Linked DNA regions of Homo sapiens: regions 1, 2, 3, 4, 6 and 7 are each linked to region 5. The links are contacts of gene promoters, found by promoter capture Hi-C in blood cells and fetal thymus (Javierre and others, 2016). All regions are on one chromosome and are shown on one strand. The core of a region is centred on a gene start or on the middle of the fragment in contact, and the rest is flanking DNA. Distances in the headings are between cores, read along the strand shown.

The links. Contacts are between HindIII fragments. The CHiCAGO score rates a contact against its expected background, and 5 or more counts as called.
Region 1: a fragment that was not itself captured here is called in contact with the fragment with the promoter of VDAC1 in region 5 in 1 of 17 cell types (non-activated CD4 T cells); the score reaches 5.8 in non-activated CD4 T cells.
Region 2: the fragment with the promoter of TXNDC15 here is called in contact with the fragment with the promoter of VDAC1 in region 5 in 4 of 17 cell types (non-activated CD4 T cells, activated CD4 T cells, total CD8 T cells and 1 more); the score reaches 7.4 in non-activated CD4 T cells.
Region 3: a contact is called between the fragment with the promoter of PCBD2 here and the fragment with the promoter of VDAC1 in region 5, in 3 of 17 cell types (fetal thymus, monocytes and activated CD4 T cells). The highest score is 7.8, in fetal thymus.
Region 4: a contact is called between the fragment with the promoter of ZCCHC10 here and the fragment with the promoter of VDAC1 in region 5, in 3 of 17 cell types (M0 macrophages, neutrophils and total CD4 T cells). The highest score is 8.9, in M0 macrophages.
Region 6: a fragment that was not itself captured here is called in contact with the fragment with the promoter of VDAC1 in region 5 in 1 of 17 cell types (naive B cells); the score reaches 5.5 in naive B cells.
Region 7: a fragment that was not itself captured here is called in contact with the fragment with the promoter of VDAC1 in region 5 in 2 of 17 cell types (naive B cells and total B cells); the score reaches 13.3 in naive B cells.

Annotation. Positions count from the first base shown.
Region 1 is chr5:134,845,147-134,848,102 of GRCh38, forward strand. It overlaps C5orf24 (chromosome 5 open reading frame 24), which reads left to right and starts at 822. Exons shown (of 2, transcript NM_001135586.1): 1 at 822-1,066. RefSeq lists an enhancer at 533-1,268 and silencers at 788-1,167, 1,198-1,247. The HindIII fragment of the contact is 1,128 bases long and covers 728-1,855 here.
Region 2 is chr5:134,872,724-134,875,633 of GRCh38, forward strand. TXNDC15 (thioredoxin domain containing 15) reads left to right here and starts at 1,648. Exons shown (of 5, transcript NM_024715.4): 1 at 1,648-1,807. The coding sequence starts at 1,705. It overlaps LOC124901071 (a long non-coding RNA gene), which reads right to left and starts at 2,675. Exons shown (of 2, transcript XR_007058943.1): 1 at 2,521-2,675; 2 at 2,108-2,409. RefSeq lists enhancers at 1,324-1,373, 1,394-1,683, 1,615-2,320, 2,214-2,283 and a silencer at 1,924-2,033. The HindIII fragment of the contact is 3,704 bases long and covers 768-2,910 here.
Region 3 is chr5:134,903,845-134,906,882 of GRCh38, forward strand. It overlaps PCBD2 (pterin-4 alpha-carbinolamine dehydratase 2), which reads left to right and starts at 1,287. Exons shown (of 4, transcript NM_032151.5): 1 at 1,287-1,379. The coding sequence starts at 1,296. RefSeq lists a silencer at 843-1,602 and enhancers at 1,200-1,784, 1,785-2,370. The HindIII fragment of the contact is 31,150 bases long and covers 1-3,038 here.
Region 4 is chr5:133,024,877-133,027,989 of GRCh38, forward strand. It overlaps ZCCHC10 (zinc finger CCHC-type containing 10), which reads right to left and starts at 1,673. Exons shown (of 5, transcript NM_001300816.3): 1 at 1,621-1,673. The coding sequence starts at 1,661. RefSeq lists an enhancer at 1,433-1,742 and a silencer at 1,823-1,952. The HindIII fragment of the contact is 6,187 bases long and covers 328-3,113 here.
Region 5 is chr5:134,003,341-134,006,532 of GRCh38, forward strand. VDAC1 (voltage dependent anion channel 1) reads right to left here and starts at 1,635. Exons shown (of 9, transcript NM_003374.3): 1 at 1,555-1,635. RefSeq lists enhancers at 359-408, 419-468, 2,119-2,238, 2,309-2,368, 2,409-2,478 and silencers at 699-1,738, 1,799-1,858, 1,899-1,948. The HindIII fragment of the contact is 5,979 bases long and covers 1-3,192 here.
Region 6 is chr5:133,089,525-133,092,393 of GRCh38, forward strand. It overlaps HSPA4 (heat shock protein family A (Hsp70) member 4), which reads left to right. Exons shown (of 19, transcript NM_002154.4): 11 at 38-171; 12 at 1,669-1,850. Among named protein-coding and RNA genes, the nearest start is that of HSPA4, 39 kb to the left of the region's middle. The HindIII fragment of the contact is 1,873 bases long and covers 346-2,218 here.
Region 7 is chr5:133,107,266-133,110,016 of GRCh38, forward strand. No RefSeq gene overlaps it. Among named protein-coding and RNA genes, the nearest start is that of HSPA4, 57 kb to the left of the region's middle. RefSeq lists an enhancer at 1,252-1,301. The HindIII fragment of the contact is 180 bases long and covers 1,364-1,543 here.

The DNA of each region.
Region 1 (2,956 bases), core at 42-2,541, 840 kb after region 5:
TGGCTTGTGTGTTTGTCCAGAAAAGTTGTTTCTCCTCCTTTCTTTCCTACTGGCAGGGCAGTACCTGGCTCAGGGCTGTGCTTATGGTAGAACTCAGTTCTATGAATTGTCCATCCTCAAATATCCTTCATTACATGGGGGAAAAGGGCAAGCATCCTCCTCTAGCCTCTTCCCACTGCTTAATAAAGTGTCTCCCTTTCAGTAGCTGCCCTAATTCTGGATCCTCTCCATTCTGACATCTGGAAATTCACAGGAGGAAGGAGTGAGGAAATGAATCCCTTCTAAGTGGGTTTGTGTGAGGTGACTGATATGTCAGATATCTCACAAGAAAAACATAATAGCGGTAGTTTGTTGTTCCATCCTTTCCTGTGATTATGGAATAATGAATGCGACAATTCCTGGGGCGTGGTGGCTTACGCCTGTAATCTGCGTGGATCATAGGATGTCCCATAAAATAAAGCTTTTCATTATCACATGATCCTGGGCATGAAGAGTCCCAACTCCCCTGACTATCATTTATTTGTCCTGTATCTAAGAAATGGGGTCAGCAGGAGTTCCAGCATCTCAGAATTGTGGTGAAAACCAATACAAGTAAGGAAGTTATTAATTCCCCATTTGGTGGGTTCCTCAACCCCAGCCACTGGGGACGGTCCACGCCGGATCACCAGCAGCTCAGGCTTAAGGCCACGACGCGCAAGCGCAGCCTGCCAGCCTGGCTCCCTCCCAAAGCTTGCGTGCAGGTTGGCGGCGGGAGATCGGGTCTCGCGATGCGAGTGAGCGTGTGCGTGCGCGGCCCTCGCGAGCTCGCGCACGCCGCCTCTAACACTACAGGGTGGTAGCGGCCTCTTCGTACTGCGTCCGGGGCAGGACCGTGCGCGGCGGCCGCGGCGGGTGCTGGGAGCCAGCGCCTGCCTCGCCGCCGCCCTCGCTGCCTGCCACTCCGTCTTGGCCCGTTCTCCGCACCGTGCAGAGGCGGCGGGCTGGGGAGGGAGCGGCGCCAGCACGAGGTTCCCAGCCGCTGGGAAGCCCCTAGACGCGCCGAGGGGCCGGGCTACGAGCGGCTGAGGTAGGTAGGGGTGCGCGGGCTGGTCAGCCGGCCGGGAGCGGGGTAGGGCGGCGGCGAGAACGGGCGCCTCGCTGACCGGGGAGAAGAGGCCTCCTGCCAAGGGGCCCTAGTGTAGCCGGAGTGAGAGGAGGGGCCCCGGACGTAGCCTGCTCTTCCCCGGTGTGGAGCCATTACGGGGGGACATTCCTCCTGCGGCGGGGGGAGGGAGCCCCCTTTCTTTTCTTTGAGAGGTCAGAATCCGCAGTCCGCCCTTCGCCTTTAAATAAAAGCCTGCCGGCTCGAGATCGGCGTCGCGATGGAGTGCCCGTGGACTTCTACGCTTGCGGAACTCCGAGTGGACGGATAGCGGCTTATGAATTTTGCTTTTTAGAGGGTACACAACCCTTTCTCTAGGGTGGCGTGCATCTTCTGCAAACTTGTTATTGCCAATACGCTAATAGTCGCTTTCAGCACACAACAGGTAATACATTCTAAACGCCTCGTGTCAAAATAAGGAGAGTCCTTATTTGTGCACCGTGGGGCACAGTTAAGGAGCAGGAAGAAGACAAAGGAGGCCGTTATTTATGTGCCGTCCTATTATCAAAACTTTCCGTGGTGGGGCAGGGTGCGTGGCTATTGGCCTCTGCTGAATGGACTTTCAGAGTGATTGAGGTGAGTTGCAAATCTTCATTTAGAATTATGAAACGTATATGATTATACATAATAGTTAGTCAAATGACCTGAAATAAATCTCTGAGAATTACGTGATCTTTGATCTTTGGAGAACAGAACTTGGGTTTCTTGAAAGGAAGCTTTCTCCATGTTTAGAAAGCTTCAGGGATGCTTTGTGAAGTTACTAAAAATAGTTACATTTCTTTATGTTGGCAGTAATGACTGCCACATTCAAGAGAAGAGAAAGGAATTGTTCTATAAAGAACGGCTCATTTTAGGGGTTAAACTTTAGGAGTTAAACACAATAAAACAACTTCAAGGATGGTAAGTTTTAGCTTATGCTTTAAGTATTCGAATTTAGTCACAGTCCAAATATATAGAAGCTCTTAGTTGACTCCTGTACATTCAGGGAACTATTTATTGGTTGTTTTTGTTTGTTTTGTTTTTTTTGAAACGGAGTCTCACTCTGTCCCCCAGGCTGGAGTACAGTGGCGCGATCGCGGCTCACTGCAACCTCTGCCTCCCGGGTTCAAGCAATTCTCCTGCCTCAGCCTCCCAAGTAGCTGGGATTATAGGCATGCGCCACCACACCCAGCTAATTTTTGTATTTTTAGTAAAGATGGTGTTTAACCATGTTGACCAGGCTGGTCTCGAACTGCTGACCTCGTGATCCACCCTTCTCAACCTCCCAAAGTGCTGGGATTACAGGCGTGAGCCACTGCACCCGGCTTCAGTAACTATTTAAAAAGATGATCTTTAACCTTTGATAGTCTACACAACCTGTTCTATAACTCTTGGCTTCTATTCAGTCCACGCTGTCTGGAAATGTAGTATTCATCCTATTTTTTTTTTTTTTTTCCTGAGATGGAGTCTGTTTCCTAGGCTGGAGTACAGTGGCACGAACTCGGCTCACTGCAACCTCCGCCTTTGGGTTCAAGCGATTCTCCTGCCTCAGCCTCTGGAGTAGCTGGAGTTACAGGCACCCGCCACCATGCCTGACTAATTTTTTGGATTTTTAGAGAGAGGGTTTCGCTGTGTTATCCAGGCCAGGCTACTCTGGAACTCCCGACCTCAACTGATCTGCCCACCTGGGCTTCCAAAATTTCTGGGATTACAGGCCTGAGCCACCGCGCCGGACCATTCTGACTCTTAAGAAATGTGGCTTGGGACCGGTCGCGGTGGCTGTGGCCTGTAATCCCAGCACTTAGGGAGGCCAAGGCAGGCGGATCACGAGGTCAG
Region 2 (2,910 bases), core at 398-2,897, 870 kb after region 5:
TAGTAACCACAGGGCATCCATGTTGGAGTATCCAGATCAGCTTCCTTTTCATTAGTCATAAATCCTTTTGGTGCTCTGTCCTGTTGGCTTTTCATGCACCTTCAAATCATGTATGGGGGTATGAGAAAGATAGTTTAAAAAGGAAAGGTTTGTTGTTCCACTGTTAGGGGTGAGGGAGGTACTTAGCGAAATGATGACTAGTAATAAGCTCTAGAACTGTGGGCTCTTTTATCCATGTCCATTGTTTCATATTCTTCTGGACCCACAAGATGGCACTTGAGGATCTACAACAGCAAAACCATACCAACGTATTTAGAATAAAAGAATCATCCACAGGGACAGATTAATGATGCATCTTTCTGGCCTAACAGTGTCTTTTTGATGGGCATAGAGATAAGGGGACTATGGCCACACCATCAGAATTGTATTATTCAATTAATAATGCCTACCACTTTGAAATGCTTCCTGTGCCCCAGGACACTGTGCTCATCACTTTACATCTCATTTCATCTATAAGACTCTATATAACGTCATTTCCACTTTACAGCTGAAGAAACTTAACTTTAAGTTACATAACCTGCTGACTGTGAACTATCACATGTGCTGAAGTTGGGATTCACCAAGCGGCCAAAAAGCACAGGTTCCCCTTACCATTGCTATGTTAACCAATAGACTGATGTATTTTAAATCAGTTTCTATTTTTTCAACCTCATAAGTTTGAAAAGCTGCACTCTGCACTGATTTAGCACTGACTGGTGGCTGCTTAAAGCTTGCCTTATTCCATTTTAGCAGGCCCCCCGGCAAAATACCCCAATTAGTGGTGTCATCCTCTCTATTCCAAGAATTTTCTCTTAAGACTCCCGCTCTGTGCGTTTGCTTGGGAATGCAGAGCCCTGTTCCTCATCTCCCCATCTATGCTTTCTTCATTCTAAGCCCTTTCCTATCTACTTTATGCTCGAGGTGGCTCCACCTCCACCATGAGCCAGAGCCAATGATGCTCACGGCCCCAACCATGATTAAAAAGAGATTGCCCTGCAAGGTAAATCAGTTAAAACCAACCTCTCCTGCCCTGAGTGGATAGGTAGGGTTAGGGTTGCCAGATGTCACGAAGTTACAGGATGCTCAGTTTTAAGGTATATCCCTTATACTATAAGGGTTATAGTAAAAAATATTCATTATGTGAAATTCAAATATAACTGGGTATCAGGTATTCTATGTGGCAACCCTAGGTAGGGGAGCACAGGTTAGGCAAGCGATTAGAAGATTTGCAGCCTCCAAAGTTTCTGCACCTCGATGGGACACTAGAACAGGAAGGCTCCTGGGCCTTTCTGGCTCTGGGAATGAAGCGTGGAAAACCCTCCTTAGGCGGGCGCAGTGCTTCAAGTAGCCAAGCTCTGACTTCCGAGGGAAGAAAGGAGGCCATGGGCCTCTGCCAGAGCCATGCTCTGCACTCTGGGGTCAGCAGAGTTCAAAACGACCTGCAACGTCTGGCGCTTAGCTCCTAAAGAGGTCTCCAGTCCAGCGCCGACGGCCAGCGGCTAGAGGCCGTCCGCCCGACTCCAAGATGGCGCCCGCCACAGCTGCCAGGTGTTAAGATGGCGGCGCGGGGCCGCGCCCGCGCTCCCAGGCTCTCCTCCCCCAGCCTTCCTCCGGCTGGCAGCACGACTCGCGTAGCCGTGCGCCGATTGCCTCTCGGCCTGGGCAATGGTCCCGGCTGCCGGTCGACGACCGCCCCGCGTCATGCGGCTCCTCGGCTGGTGGCAAGTATTGCTGTGGGTGCTGGGACTTCCCGTCCGCGGCGTGGAGGGTGAGTGTGGGCCGGGGGCGGTGCATGAGATGATGGGGCGAGCTGAGGTCCACCCGGGCGACGCTCTGGACCTGCGCGAAGGCCGGCGGTGCGCGACTCGCCCCTTCTTGGCGTCTCCCCGGGCGCGTCTCCCCGACTTCTCTCCCCGCGCACCGCCCGCTGGTGGCCCGCGAAAGGGGGCCGGTGGGCTGAGGGCCGGTGGACGGGAGCCCGGGGGTGGTTGGGCCGCGTTCAGGCCGCCCTCAGCCCGTGGCTGGTAGCCAGGAGGGACAGTGCGGTAAGCGCTGCTGAGGCATACCCTCTGGTGATAAGCAATTTATTATTAATAACATTATATCAAATACCGACATTGTTGTGGCCGTATTAGGAGCCAGGAACTGTGCATCGTGCTTTATTTACATCATTATCCCATTTAATGCTCCCACAAACCCTGTCAGATCGGTTCCGTTTAGTGTCTCCATTTCACAGATGAAGATGCTCAGGCCCCGCCTAAGTTTGCGCTTCTGATACGTGGCAGAAGCCTGTCTCTCTGACGCCAAAGCCCAGTCTGGAGTCCACGCTGCTGGACCACTGTCTTAAGGAGGCCAGTCTTGCTCAGCTCCCTGCATGAAAAACAGACGAGAAACACGGGAGACTCCCGGTAACCCCCAACTTGCCGGTAGGGAAGGCAGCCACTCTAGAGGCATGGCGAGGGTGGAGAGTGGAGGCCTTACTTTCATGCTCCTTCACCCCACTCCTCATAGTCCTGTTAAAGTCCAGACCCTCGGTCTCGCTTGTCATTTAGACCTTAACAGGAATAGGCAGGTCTTTCTTTTCCCTGGGGTGTCCTGGATGGAGGCAGGACAGCAGAGAGTTGTGGAGAAGGGTGAGTCATAGTAACACAATTACCATGAATGAAAGCGCTCACTGTGTACCAGATGCTGTGCTCAGTGCTTTACGAGCATCATCTTTTGGAATCTTTACTGTTTTGTTTTTGTTTTTTTAAGGGATGAGGGCTTGCTCTGTTGCCCAGGCGGGAGTGCAGTGGCCCATCATGGCTCCCTGCAGCCTTGAACTCCTGGGCTTAAGTGATCCTCCCACCTGTTTCCCAAAGTGCTGGGATT
Region 3 (3,038 bases), core at 37-2,536, 900 kb after region 5:
CGAACATCTGGCCTCAAGTGATCCTCCTGCCTTGTCCTCCCAAAGTGCTGTGATTACAGGTGCGGGCCACCATGCCTGGCCTGCTTAAACTATTCAGTTAAAAACAAACAAAAAAGAGGCCGGGCGCGGTGGCTCACGCCTGTAATCCCAGCACTTTAGGAGGCCGAGGCGGGCGGATCACGAGGTCAGGAGATTGAGGCCATCCTGGCTAACACTGTGAAACCCCGTCTCTACTAAACATACAAAAACAAAATTAGCCGGGCGTGGTGGCGGGTGACTGTAGTCCCAGCTACTCGGGAGACTAAGGCAGGAGAATGGCGTGAACCCGGGAGGCGGAGCTTGCAGTGAGCCGAGATCGCGCCACTGCACTCCAGCCTGGGCGACAGAGCGAGACTCCGTCTCAAAAAAAAAAAAAAAAAAAAAAGATACAAGTGAGTATTCTTAATAGTATGTCAATTACATCTCAAAAAAGTCAAAAAAAAAAAAAAAAAAAGAATGAAAGAATACCTCCCCAAAAATGATACAAGAAAAGATTCACCTAAATCTGTTCACAGCTGTCTGCAGAGCTCCTACTGTGTGCTGAGCCTGGGGGTAAACAGGGCACGGACACGTTTGGGAGGGGATTACAGGCCGGGTTTCCACACTTTTTGGTCCAGGCAAACCCAGACGAGCCAGCTGGCTCAAGAACTTGGCAGCTGCGTGATGACTGAACAGAGGCTGCGTTCGAACCCACTACTGCAAGACTTAGGAGCCCCCGATGGGAACTGCCGTGGTTCACTGCCCCAGCCCCGCCGCTCAACTGCCCCGCCCTGGCCTACGACATCCTCCTGCCCGCATGGACTGCGCGCAGCGCCGCCAAGCGGGGAGCCCAGCTCGGTGCTAGCGCCCGCGAAGCGGAGGAGGCCGGCGCCCGAGGCTGGGCGAAGTTCCTCCTAGCGCAGCGAGGACCGGAGGGCAAGGCCAGCGCGCGCCGGGCGACCTGCGTCCCGGGCACAGACGCGACGGGCCCGCACGGGGCGGGGACCGCGCGCGCCTGCTGGGCCTACGGCTGTGGGGCGCGCAGAGTCCACCTGGCGGCCAAGGGCGCTGGCGACCGCTGAAGCTCCTGGGGGTGTTCGGGGTCCGGGCTGCGCCTGTGCCCGCGGGAAGGCTGGGCGCTTCCCACACACAGACCCCGCTCCGGGCCAGCCCCGCAGGGAGACTACCAGGGCTGGCGGTAGCTGGGCGTGGTCGGGTCGGGGGCGGCTGTGGGCGGCCGGCAGGCAGCGCGCGGGGCAGCCCTCGGCAGACGGCCAATGGCGGCGGTGCTCGGGGCGCTCGGGGCGACGCGGCGCTTGTTGGCGGCGCTGCGAGGCCAGAGCCTAGGGCTAGCGGCCATGGTGAGTGCACAGCGGCCGCGTGGGTGGGGGTCCGGGGTCGGGGGGCGGTGCGAGGCCCGGCGGCGTCGGCTGAGGGACCAGCGGGACTGGGGCGAACCCGGCGTGGGCCGAGCCTTGGAGCTCGGGCGTCGGGTCACCGCGTCCCGGGACTGACCACCTGTCCGGTGCGCCGCTCAGAGACCGGGGTGGCCGCAGCCTCCGCCACTTGCCCTTGACTTTACACTTCCGCCGAAGCCTACGAACTTGCCAACCGGAAACAAATGGGAACGAATTTTGTTCAGCAACTACAAAAGGCAGATGTGAAAAGTAGTTGCAGAACAATTCGGTGCCCGCTGCCGCTCGTTGTGCTGAGGACGAACGGCGCTGCGGGCCTGGCTCCCTATGGCGGCTCCCTGCTCGCGCTTCACTCCAAGGGGAACCCACAGAGGTTTTGGAGGAGTTATTAATAAATTGTCTTTTTTGGTGACATATTGACTTTTCTTTCCTTTTCCAAGGGGCCGTCAGTTTTCCTGCTGTAGAAATTAATATTTTGGAGTAAATGGAGGGAAAGTTTTAACATGCAGCACCACCTAGTGGAAAAGTGGTGCGTTAAACTCACCATCTCATTTTAAGTTGCATTTTAACCGCCCATTTCAGTTTGAAATGTTTTGTTTTGTTTTGTTTTTTCGACACGGAGTCTCGCTGTATCGCCGAGCCCGGAGTGGAGTGGCGCGATCTCGGCTCACTGCAACCTCCATCTCCTGGGTTCACGCTATTCTCCTGCCTCACCCTCCCGAGTAGCTGCGATTACAGGCGCGTGCCATTTCGCCCAGGTAATTTTTTATATTTTTAGTAGAGAGGGGTTTTCGCCATGTTGGCCAGGCTAGTCTCGAACTCCTGACCTCAGGTGATCTACCTGCCTCGGCCTCCCAAAGTGCTGGGATTACAGGCGCGAGCCACTGCGCCTGGCCTGAAATTCTTTAATAGAAGAATTTTTTTTTTTTTTTTTTTTTTTTTTTGAGAAGGAGAATCACGCCGTCACCCAGGCTGGAGTGCAGTGGCGCGATCTCGGCGTATTGCAAGCTCCGCCTCCCGGGTTCACGCCATTTTCCTGCCTCAGCCTCCCGAGTAGCTGGGACAACAGGCGCCCGTCGCCACGCCCGGCTAATTTTTTTGTATTTTTAGTAGAGGCGGGGTTTCACCGTGTTAGCCAGGATGGTCTCGATCTCCTGACCTCGTCATCCACCCTCCTCGGCCTCCCAAAGTGCTGTAATAGAAGAAATTTAAAATAGCTCGAAGACGGAGGAAGATAGGCACTCCGCCGCTTCTTGTCCACGAAGGGGAGAACACAAGTTGAGTGCCTACTGTCACCTAGGCGTGTCTTCAGGCGTACTCTGCCCCAGGTGCTAGTGATCCAGTAAGATTAGGGTGTTCTGGGAAGGAATGAGTCAACAGACATGATTTGAGCGCTGCCCCATGCCAGGCTCAATGCTAGGTACCCTCACATTCAAGATCTGTAATCTAAGCCTTTCAAAAAATCTTGGCAGGTAGATATTATAATATCCCCACTACAGACAGAAGGATCCCGGAATTCAGAAAAGCGGAGTTTAGTATCCCACAGCTAAAAGTAACAAAGTTAGGCCTTAGATCTAGTTTACTCTCTTCAAATCCTAGCCTACC
Region 4 (3,113 bases), core at 423-2,922, 980 kb before region 5:
TGGGCAACAGAGTGAGACTCCGTCTAAAAAAAAAACAAAAAAAACCTGTCTGACTTCGAGCCTTCTTCCTTCACCAAGCTTACTACTCTAACTCCCTAAGTCTGTCTGTACATTTGAGGAACTCTTCTTATCAGGCCTGAAAGGGTAGATGGAAAGGAGAAGAAAAAGGGATTATTTGAATTAAAAAATATAAAAAGATATACAGATAAACACACATACATATACTAGCAGACTCTGAGCTACATATAGACATGAAAATGGAGATGGCATGAAATATTTATGAAAAAGAGGCAGATGTCTGGATGTGCAAAGGCTGTTGGAAAAAAAAGCTTTATAAGAAAGGGGTTGCCGCGCGCGGTAGCTCACGCCTGTAATCCCAGCACTTTGGGAGGCCAAGGCGGGCGGATCTCGAGGTCAGGGGATCGAGACCATCCTGGCTAACACGGTGAAACCCCATCTCTACTAAAAATACAAAAAACCAGCCGGGCATGGTGGCGGGCGCCTGTAGTCCCAGCTACTCGGGAGGCTGAGGCAGGGGAACGGCGTGAACCCGGGGGGCGGAGCTTGCAGTGAGCCAAGATTGCACCTCTGCACTCCAGCCTGGGAGACAGAGCAAGACTCCGCCTCAAAAAAAAAAAAAAAAAAAAAAAAAAAAAAGAAAGGGGCATCTGGGGTGACCCTTGCATTATTTGTCAGCTATGAATCTCTTCTGCCACTCTCTCTTGTTCATTAGGCGTAATGGCTATCTTTCAGTTCTGTAAAAAGTAAGTTTCAGGCTCAAAGCAATTATGCCACTATCCGGATGCTCTTTCTCAAAATCCTCGTATGACTGTTCCTTTTTCATCCTTTAAATCTCTGTTCAAATTCCACCTCTTCAGAGATGCCTTTCCAGTCCAACCAACCTAAAGTGGGCCTTTCCCTCTTTCCATCACAACAGCTTACTTCCTTCAAAGCTGTTATCACCAGCTGTATTTACAATTTGTGGTTTATCGACTGTTTCCATCACTAGAATGTAAGCTCTCTGAAAGCAAGGATTTTGTCTTGAACACCTCTATTTATACCCAATGTCTGGCACAGAACGGTAGGAACTAAATAAATTAATATTTATTGAAAGAGAGAATGAGTAGCAAAAGGTGGTAAGATAGCCTGGGAAAGCAATCGGCATTGAAGGCAGGGTGTTCCTAAGGAAGGCGCTAGAATAAGGAAGTAGGAAAAGGCAGCTGGGCTGGACACTGAATAGGAAACTGAAGGTTTACGTCGGCTGGAATAAAGGTGTCGGACCGGGGCTTCAGGGCTCCCCTGTCCACGCGTGGGGTTGGCGGAGGGGCATAAATCACTGAGTGACCAACTGTGGGCGTTCCTTTCAGAGAAACCAAACGCGACAGTTGTCTTCAAACCCCGCTCTGTCCCGTGCCGCAGACTTTACGCGGCTGTCTTCCGCGAAATCGCTAACCCCCGGTCACCAGACTTATCGCCCGGGCCCGAGCCCCCCGGGAGCCAGAAGAGTGTTTGAGAAACGGACATTCTCCGCCGGTCCCAATAGGGGTCCGACACCAGCCCGTTGACGCGCGTTTCCCCGCTCCCAGCCCTCCAGTGGACCCGAACCGGATCCTTACTTACGCTTGTCTCCGGGCTATTAGCCGATGCATGGGAGTCGCCATCTTAGCGCGGTCAAAGCCGGCCGCGCAGGGTTTTGGGAAACTCCTCGGAAGGGCGGGGCTTCCAACCGGGAGGCCGTAGACGTAGGCGGGGCCAGACAGGCTTCTAAGGGGAGGTATCTTAGTGCCGGCTGGTGGGTCGGGAGGGGAGGGGCTGGAGGGTCGGGAGGGGAGGGGCTGGAGGGTCGGGAGGGGAGGGGCTGGAGGGGCTGGAGGGTCGGGACGGGAGGGACTGGTGGGTCGGGAGGGGCCGGTGTCTCCAGTATGGGTCTCGGGTTCTCGGGCCGAACAGGGTTTCAAAGGATGATTACAGGCAAGAACATTATCTGTGGAAAATGAGGACAACATTCTCGAACGAGGGATACACATACAAAGACAAAGAATGAAACTTTGGTGTTCAGAAAACTAGAAGTAGTCTGGAGAATAGAAAGGAATTAGTTGACCAGGATTGAGACCATCAATTGAAAGAATGACTTTAGCAAGCCATGGAGTGCAAACATATACGTTATTTCTGTTTTTTATGTATTTCACAGCGTTGTTACGAGTACTAAATGGGACTGTATAACTAAAGCTGCTTTATCAAGCAGAAAAGGACTATACAAATATTTTAGAATATTTTAGCTGCACCTACATCTAATGTCAGCTCACGGAGCTATTATTCTCTTAAAACCCACGTTCTCTGAAATATATATAATTTTCTGAAGTGTGTGTGTGTTTCTGGGTCATCCATATTTTTTCCTTTTTTTTTTAATTTGAGACAGAGTCTCGCTGTGTCGCCAGGCTGGAGTGCAGTGGCGCGATCTCGGCTCAGTGCAACCTCTGGGTCCCTGGTTCAAGAGATTCTCTTGTCTCACACTCCCGAATAGCTGGGATGACAAGCACGCGCCACCATGCCCAGCTAATTTTTGTATTTTTACTAGAGACAGGGTTTCACCATGTTGGCCAGGATGGTCTCGATCTCCTGACCTCATAATCCGCCCGCCTCGGCCTCCTAAAGTGCTGGGATTACAGGCGTGAGCCACCGCGCCCAGCCATATTTTTTCAATTAATAATTAACACTTAAAATGTTTTAGGAGCTGAGGACAGAGCATTTGAACAAATAAAATCCGTGTACACATGGAACTTTCTACAGACAATGAATGAAGACTATTCTCATGGGCATAAGTACTCTAACGAAAAATATTTCAGAGTAAGGGATTAAAGAGTGATTAGGAGTTAGGGAAGGTGATGATGTGACCTTTGAGCACAACTTGTTCTTCAAAAAAATAGGCTCTTACATGTTGTGTTCTCCAGCTTGATTTTTTCATTCCTCAGTGTACTTATGAAAATGTTTTCCCGGCCAGGCGCAGTGGCTCACGCCTGTAATCCCAGCACTTTCGGAGGCCGAGAAGGGCGGATCACCTGAGGTTGGGAGTTCAAGGCCAGCTTGACCAACATGGAGAAACCCCATCTCTA
Region 5 (3,192 bases), core at 385-2,884:
GGAGCCCTTTCCCCTATCTCCCCAGGAGAGGGGAGGCTAGTCAAGGGGACAGGGACCCCGGGCGGAACGGGCTCTAAACCAGGGTCTGCTCCTGCATTCAAGATCTCCACATGCAAACTTACTGCTCCAGCTTGACAATGTCCATTTGTAAACTTACAAGATTTTTCATAAATTAAGCTGAAAGTTACTCAATACCTGGTATACAAATGCTTGTCAATAATAGTGAAAGAATGTTTAAAAACAGGAGCTACATTTATTGAACCCCTTCCACAACGCCACGTGTAGCAAAATGGTCTGCGGGGGATGGGCTGGATTCACCCAAAAAGCCCCAAGGGTGTCAGGGTTTCTACTTAGCCCTTCTCCACACCGGCACTGTTCTAAAGGTTTCATGCTAATTAATTCATTTTATTATTCCCCAAAACTCATCGAAGGAGAGGTACAATTGCTCCCGTCCTATAGATGAGAAAACGAAGGTATGGGGACTTCCCAGCTGTGTGACCTTGTACAAACCACTAAGACTGCGGGCCTCTAATCCAAAGTCAGGCTCCGAAACAGTTTCCAGAATGCACCGCCGCATTTGGCGAATGAATGAACGACCGAACCAGTAATCACTCCTAAGACCAAGAAGGCCACATCCTTCCCCGTGGGGCCTCCTTTTCCGAGGCCAAACCTTCAGCCCAGGCCCGAGCTCCGGCCTCTACCGCCTAAGTCGACTCTCGGCCGGCGCGTTCCGCTCTAGAAGGCTCTGGCACAGGCGGGCGGTGCCGGGCGCCAGCTTCTGCGGGCGTGGGCCGGCCAGGGCGCGTGGGCCTGGGGACTCGGGGCCACGGTCGTCACGTGAGCTCATCCCCGAGGCGGCAGCGTGGCCGGCACCCGCCCGCTGGCCTGGTCCGGCGAGCGTGGGCGGCGAACGGGTCCCCGCCGGATGCACGCTGGTGGGATCCAGGGCCAGAGGGCGCCGCCGGGGAAGGTCACCTAGACGCGCGGCCCGCCGGGCCTCCACGCGGCCGCCCTTGCACTTCCGCCCGCAAGCCCGGGCCGCCTCTCGCCGCCAGCCGCAGGCGTCTCTGGACCCTCGGCCTCGCGCTCCCCAGCCCAGACCTGTTCGGCACCCGCCTGTGCGGCCTTCTCTGCCCGCCCGCTCACCAGCCAGGCCCGCGCCGGCCGCTCGCGATCCCTCCCCGCGGCCGGGCTGCCGGGGCCCCTCGCCCGCTCCTCCCTCAGCGCCTCCCTCTCAGCTCCCCAGGGGCCTGGCCCCCGCCGTCCAGGGCGCAAGGAAGCCGGGGTCCTTTTCCGCTGCGCCTACCTCAGAGGATGTGGCGGCGGGCTCGGAGGCGGCTACGGCGGGGGCTGCGACGCGGAGGCAGGGAGCCGAGCCAGGGAGCGGAGCCGAGCGAGCGGCTGGGCCAAGGGCGGGGCGGCGCGGACGGCGGCGGCGCGGACCCGCCTCCCCTCCTGCGCGCCCGGCCCGGCGCGCTCCGCCCCCAGGCCCCGCCCGGGACAGCGTCCAGGCCGGGCCAGGGTCCCCATCCCGCTAGCGAGCCGCGTTCTTACCCTTCCGGGCCCCGCTGCCCCGGCAGCAGACACAGGAGCCTGCGGGCGTGTTGCGGGCGCGCGGGAGGACCTGCGTGAGTCGGGGCACGGGGAGGCGCCGGACTGACGTGTGCACCGTGTGTGCGTGCGCAGGGACACGCGGGTTCTTGCTGGAAACCTCGGCCCCAGTGGCAGCGCTCGGGAAGGGGGAGGAGGCCTTCCGATTCTCTGAGCTGTGGCCCGGAGGTCCCTGCGCTAATGGAAGACGCGCGGGGCTCCTGGGCCTCCTGCTTGGCCTCCGCGCTGCTAGATCCCCCGGGAGTTGATGTGGCCGGCGCTGGACCCAAGCCTCGCCTGGGTGGACAAAGTGGCCCCCGGCCCCCCATCAAAGCCCGCGTGGGCCCCATCCCCCGAGGGCAGTCCCAGGCCCAGCGCGGACACTGGGCGCCTGGGGCGGCGCAGATACAGAGTAGAGGCGGCGACTGTTGCTCCCGAGCTCCGCGCTCCGGATACAATGTGTCTGGCGCCTCCGACCCGCCCGCGCGGCGTCTAGACAATCTCAGAGAAAACCCCTGTGCGCCGATTTTGCACTACAGATTAGCGATTTTCTCCTGTAGCAAAGCTACTAGCAGCCAATTTCCATGCATTTGAGAGGCAAAAAGACAAAATAAAACAAAACGTGGATTGGGTTTTGCGAGGTCCCTGCTGGGTCTCTCGGCGCGAGGAGATCACGCCGGTTATGGCCGGCCGGCCGACTGAGGGCACCCCGGGTAACCCCCGCGACCAGCCGGGGCGTGTCCTGCGGGACCCAGTTAGTGTGTGTTGAGTGAACGGTCACCTCGCTGCTAGGCCTAAGCGAGTGGTCTCGTTCACCACTGAGTGTCCCCTGTGTTACGCGCGAGGCCCACTCGAAGCAGGTTTCGAGAATTAATTCGTAGATGGACGAAGATTCTACACATCCTTCGCCTTTGATCAACAAACGTCCTGGAAGGCTTGAGGCGTCTAGGGCCCTGTGGAGGAGGTGCCGGGTTACAGAATCAGGACACTCCTCACAGCCAGCTGCGACACTATCTAAAGCAGTGGGCAACTGGGGCTACGGAGGAGGCAATCAGGACTGGCTGCTGGGAAAAGGCGGCAGATTAAAAGTGGCGACTGGAGTTGGAAAAGGTGCTCCAGTGGGATAGGGTGCTGAGGAAGAGGGCAGCTGATACAGAGTGGGAGTGGGGTGCAGACAGGTTACCTAGGCCCTGTGTAGGGGCTGGGGGAGGGGTGACTGGGAATGTAAGGAAGAGCCCCCTTCAAGATCCTGAGGAGTGTAGGACGGATTCTATGACCCTCCCAGGCGCACGAGTTGCCTGGGAACTCTGGGCTTCCCAGCCTGGTGGTCCCCACCCCGCACACTGAGACTGGTGGGCAGGGGGAGGACAAGAACTCAGGGAGGCCGGGCGGGACAAGGCGGGGCTCCAGGAACCCCACAGGGCTAGGAACAGATGCCGGTGCAACCCAGTTTTGAGGCTGGGAGCAAATGTCGAAGGGCTTCCTCCCCTCCAGCGCCACCTCTCAACTCCGCTTTAAAGAACCAATCTGGGCCGGGTGCAGTGGCTCAAGCCTGTAATCCTAGTACTTTGGGAGGCCGAGACAGGCAGATCACTTGAGGCC
Region 6 (2,869 bases), core at 32-2,531, 910 kb before region 5:
TCCTGAATTTGTGTTTTTGTCTTTTTCCTCCATTCAGTGACTGTGAAGTCTTTTCCAAAAATCATGCTGCTCCTTTCTCTAAAGTTCTTACATTTTATAGAAAGGAACCTTTCACTCTTGAGGCCTACTACAGCTCTCCTCAGGATTTGCCCTATCCAGATCCTGCTATAGGTAAGTAAAGAGTTGGAAATTAAAAAAGAAAAAAAAAAAAAAGCACAGTGGCTCACAACTGTAATCCCAACACTTTGAAAGGCTAAGGTGGGAGGATCACTTGAGCTGAGGAGTTCGAGATCAGCCTGGGCAACATAGTGGGACCCTGTCTCCATTTAAACAACAACAAAAAAAAGCTTATCTACTTGGAGAGTTCGCATAGTAGAAAGAACAAGTATGGTATTCTGAAATTTAGGGGCTTTAGATTGCAAAAGAAAACCTCTTCCAGTCTCGTTAGCAGGTTTAGAACCAGCCAAATGGCTGTTATTTAATTGGATCTCCCATTGTATCGGCAGTTTTTCTTGGTTAGCGCACATTGTAATTATAACTTATGTATAAGGTGGTGCTATATACTATAAGGAGTTAACGAAATTCAGTTTGGACCCTAACATACAGTTATAAGATGTATATAGAAAATAGCCAGGTGCGGTGGCTCACGCCTGTAATCCCAGCACTTTGGGAGGCCAAGGCGGGCAGGTCAGGAGATCGAGACCATCCTGGCTAACATGGTGAAACCCCGTCTCTACTAAAAAAATACAAAAAAAAATTAGCCAGGTGTGGTGGCGGGCGCCTGTAATCCCAGCTACTTGGGAGGCTGAGGCAGGAGACTGGCGTGAACTCGGTAGGCAGAGCTTGCAGTGAGCTGAGATCACGCCACTGCACTCCAGCCTAGGCGACAGAGCGAGACTCTGTCTCAAAAAAAAAAAAAAAAAAAAAAAAAGGATGTATATAGAAAATCATTAGGAGATGGTGATACAATATCAAAACATACTAGGTTTCAGAACCGTGTTATCTAGAGTAGTTATAGACTCTGGGAAACTCTTATCTGGAAATAATACTAGTTGAGAAGAGATAGAAACTAGTTATAGTATAAAGACCTAGAATATATGGGTAAAGAAATTAGGAGTATCCTGAATGGCATTTAGAAGCTGTGGAAAGTTAACCTATTCTTTTTTCCCCATCTGTAAATCTGTAAAACCAGGAATAACAATGATAATTCATACTTTGCAGAGTTCTGGGAATGAAGAAAATGTAAATAAAAACCTTGTACAGTCACTGGACCTAGAAATGGCAATTTACTGATAAACGACAAGCAGAGTGGAATCATTTTTTTTTTCTGTTTTGTTTTTTGAGTAGAGAATGTGACAAATCTGTTTTAGGAATTAATCTGAAAGTAGCATATAAAGATAAATGGAAATAAGAAATTGGAAGAAAGGAAAGAATCGGGAGATATTTGAGTTCTTAATTGGGGCAGGATAAGATAATAAGAGACTGTGAAAGAAGAAAGAGAAATCTGATGATTTAATAAGATTCTAAAAGGACCGATTTTGCTTATTTTAAGCATCATGTTACTGAGCTATCATTGAAAGTAGACATAATCTAGCAATGTAGGCATATATTCATGCTTGAATTCATCCTCTTAGGTTATGTGTTCTTTTGTCTCTCGTATGTCCCTAGCTCAGTTTTCAGTTCAGAAAGTCACTCCTCAGTCTGATGGCTCCAGTTCAAAAGTGAAAGTCAAAGTTCGAGTAAATGTCCATGGCATTTTCAGTGTGTCCAGTGCATCTTTAGTGGAGGTTCACAAGTCTGAGGAAAATGAGGAGCCAATGGAAACAGATCAGAATGCAAAGGAGGAAGAGGTAATCTAGACATTGTATACCACTTGTGATGGCCCAGAGGTGACTTGTCTAGAAATTGTAGCAAGCAGACTTGGTGGCAAGGCCGGAGCATTGTGACAGAGCTGCTGAGTGAGAGTGGGTTTGTATGTTTGCCCTTCCCCCAATATAAGTGAACCAGCAGTAGATTTTTATGCAGAATTTGTATAGAAGTGGAACACAAGTTGATTTCTTCTTTCAGATCATACACTTCTCAACTTGAGTTATTCCTGATTCTGGTTGTTGAAGAGTGCTCTGAGTCTCAGTTAATTATTTTCAAAAGTAGAATTGATTGTACACTCATTTGTTGGAATTATGCACTGGGTCTTGTCTTCATTGTGCATCAGAATCAAAGCTTTACAAAACTACAAATTACCTATGATTCCAGCACTTTGGGAGGCTGAGGCAGGAAGATTGCTTGAGCCCAGAAGTTTGAGGCCAGCCTGGGCAACAAAGTGAGACCCTCATCTCTACAAAAAGTTAAAAACAACAACAACAACAACAAAAAAACTAGCCAGGTGTGGTGGCACACACCTGTGGTCCCACCTGCATGGGAGGCTGAGGCAGGAGGATTGCGTGAGCCTAGGAGGTCAAGGCTGCAGTGAGTCCTGTTTGCGCCACTGCACTCTAGCCTATGTGTCAGAGTGTGACCCTGCCTCAAGGAAAACAAAACTACAAATGCTTGGGTTTCATCCCCACAGATTTTACTGAAGTTGGTCTGAGCTGAGGTAGCAGTAGTTTTAAAAGCCTCTCAGGTCATTCTAATATGTTGCAGGCATTGAGAAGCCACTGGTTCAGGCTCTCCACAAACCTTCTTTCATTGTTATTTTTAGGCTTTGTAATTTTAACGTGTTCGCCTCCCCGAGCACATGCAGTGGTCATACTTTTGAGGATGAAGAGAGGCTGACTTAGGAACTATTTGAAAAAGTTGGAACTTTTGAGAGAAAATACCTTTGAGGAAGCCTGGAGAAGCTTATGCTCTCTTCAGGTTGTATTTTGTAGAT
Region 7 (2,751 bases), core at 204-2,703, 900 kb before region 5:
CTGAGGCAGGAGGATCACTTGAGCCCAGGTGGTCAAAGCTGCAGTGAACTGAGATTGTGCTATTGCAACTCCAGCCTGGGTGATAAAGTGATACCCTGTCTCCTTAAAAGGTGGGGGCCTGAGAGATCAGGGTTCTGTTGTGGGGCAGTGGGAGCTGCTTTGCAGGGGCACAGGGGGCCTGGGGGTTGTTGGAGGTAGTGGGACTTAGTCCACCTTTGAGGGGACAGCCAAATGAAGGGGAAAATTGCTGGTTTTGGTACCTGCAGGAAGAGGGAAGATGTAAGCATGGTTCCAGCTGAAAACCATGCTTTAGAAGTTGGGATAGTAGTTACTCTTTGTGGAGTAGTGACAACATGATGTGAGGCTTGGTGATGCTTGTTTTTTGATCTGACTTGATAGTGTACTCATGTACACTTGATCTATTTCAATAATTTTAAGTGGCTTTAACAGAAAGGTGTGTATTTTTTTTTTTTTTTTTTGAGATGGAGTCTCGCTTTGTCACCCAGGCTGCAGTGCAGTGGCGGGATCTTGGTTTACTGCAACCTCTGCCTCCCGGGTTCAAGTGATTCTTCTGCCTCAGCCTCCCGAGTAACGGACTGGAGGCGTGCGCCACCACGCACTGCTAATTTTTGTATTTTTAGTAGAGACAGGGTTTCACTGTATTGGCCAGGCTGGTCTCGAACTCCTGACCTTGTGATCTGCCCACCTTGGCCTCCCAAAGTGCCAGGATTACAGGTGTGAGCCACCATGCCTGGCCTACATTTTTACACACACAATGTAGGTTATAAAACTACATAGCCTCTCATGTTTTGAAAGAACATTAAATGGGTTTGCAATAAAAAAGCCAGAAGGATTTTCCCAGATGAAGTGGTTTTTAGGGTGGGATTGTGGGTGATTGTTTATTTTTGCTTGTTTCTGTTTTCAGAGTTTGCTACAATAAGCATTTAGGGCCAGGCATGGTGGCTCATGCCTGTAATCCCAGCCAAAGTGGGAGGATCTCTTGGGTCCAGGAGTTCAAGACCAGCCTGGGCAACATGGGGAGACAAGCCCCTACCCCCCACCGCCTCCTGTCACTAATAAAAGCATTTAGGAATTTTATAATGTTAAGAAAACTAGAAGTGTGTTTTAAGAAGAATGGCTCCAAGGTTTCAAACCTAGAATACGGGATATGATTGTACATGTGGAGCTTCTAGTCTTGAGTCATTGGAGATGTGGTGGGAGTTTAGATTGAGAAGTTTTCCTGGGTGGGGTTGAGACATCGAAGCTCCAGGTGGGTGTGGATGGAAGCTTTTGGGGCTGGAGTCGTGTTCCTCATTGACGGGATGAAGGCTTGTGTTGAGATGTGTTAGGAAGAGGAAGTAAAAGCTTTGAAAGAAGGAACTGCCAGAGAGGAGTTATGATGCATAAAGCATGTTGGGAGGAAGGGAGCTAGAGATGTGAGATGTGGCAGTGGCCAGCAGGGTTAGATGCTTCAGTAGGGTGGGAGCTGGGTGGGGTGAAGGGGCTTGAGGTGAGGCTGCAGGTGCTGAGTACTTGGTCAAGAAGCTTGGCCTCAGCCGCCCCGTCCGGGAGGGAGGTGGGGGGGTCGGCCCCCCGCCCGGCCAGCCGCCCCGTCCGGGAGGGAGGTGGGGGGGGTCAGCCCCCCCGCCCAGCCAGCTGCCCTGTCCGGGAGGTGAGGGGCGCCTCTGCCCGGCCGCCCCTACTGGGAAGTGAGGAGCCCCTCTGCCCGGCCAGCCGCCCCGTCCGGGAGGGAGGTGGGGGGGTCAGCCCCCCCGCCCAGCCAGCCGCCCTGTCCGGGAGGTGAGGGGCGCCTCTGCCCGGCCGCCCCTACTGGGAAGTGAGGAGCCCCTCTGCCCGGCCAGCCGCCCCGTCCGGGAGGGAGGTGGGGGGGTCAGCCCCCCCGCCCAGCCAGCCGCCCTGTCCGGGAGGTGAGGGGCGCCTCTGCCCGGCCGCCCCTACTGGGAAGTGAGGAGCCCCTCTGCCCGGCCACCACCCCGTCTGGGAGGTGTGCCCAACAGCTCATTGAGAACGGGCCAGGATGACAATGGCGGCTTTGTGGAATAGAAAGGCGGGAAAGGTGGGGAAAAGATTGAGAAATCGGATGGTTGCCGTGTCTGTGTAGAAAGAAGCAGACATGGGAGACTTTTCATTTTGTTCTGCACTAAGAAAAATTCCTCTGCCTTGGGATCCTGTTGATCTGTGACCTTACCCCCAACCCTGTGCTCTCTGAAACATGTGCTGTGTCCACTCAGGGTTAAATGGATTAAGGGCGGTGCAAGATGTGCTTTGTTAAACAGATGCTTGAAGGCAGCATGCTCGTTAAGAGTCATCACCAATCCCTAATCTCAAGTAATCAGGGACACAAACACTGCGGAAGGCCGCAGGGTCCTCTGCCTAGGAAAACCAGAGACCTTTGTTCACTTGTTTATCTGCTGACCTTCCCTCCACTATTGTCCCATGACCCTGCCAAATCCCCCTCTGTGAGAAACACCCAAGAATTATCAATAAAAAAATAAATTAAAAAAAAAAAAATAAAAAAAAAAAATAAAAAAAAAAAAGCAAAAAAAAAAAAAAAAAAAGAAGCTTGGCCTCTGAAATGAGGCATCAGTCTGCGAGAAAGGAGGTTGGGCAGTGTCCTGTGTGTAAATGGGGATGGTTCCCACCACTTACTTGAGACCATTGGGAATCTTGGAGTTGCCAGTACATTCCTTGGATGTACTTGGCTTTGGCTGGGGCAGCCCTGGGCCATGA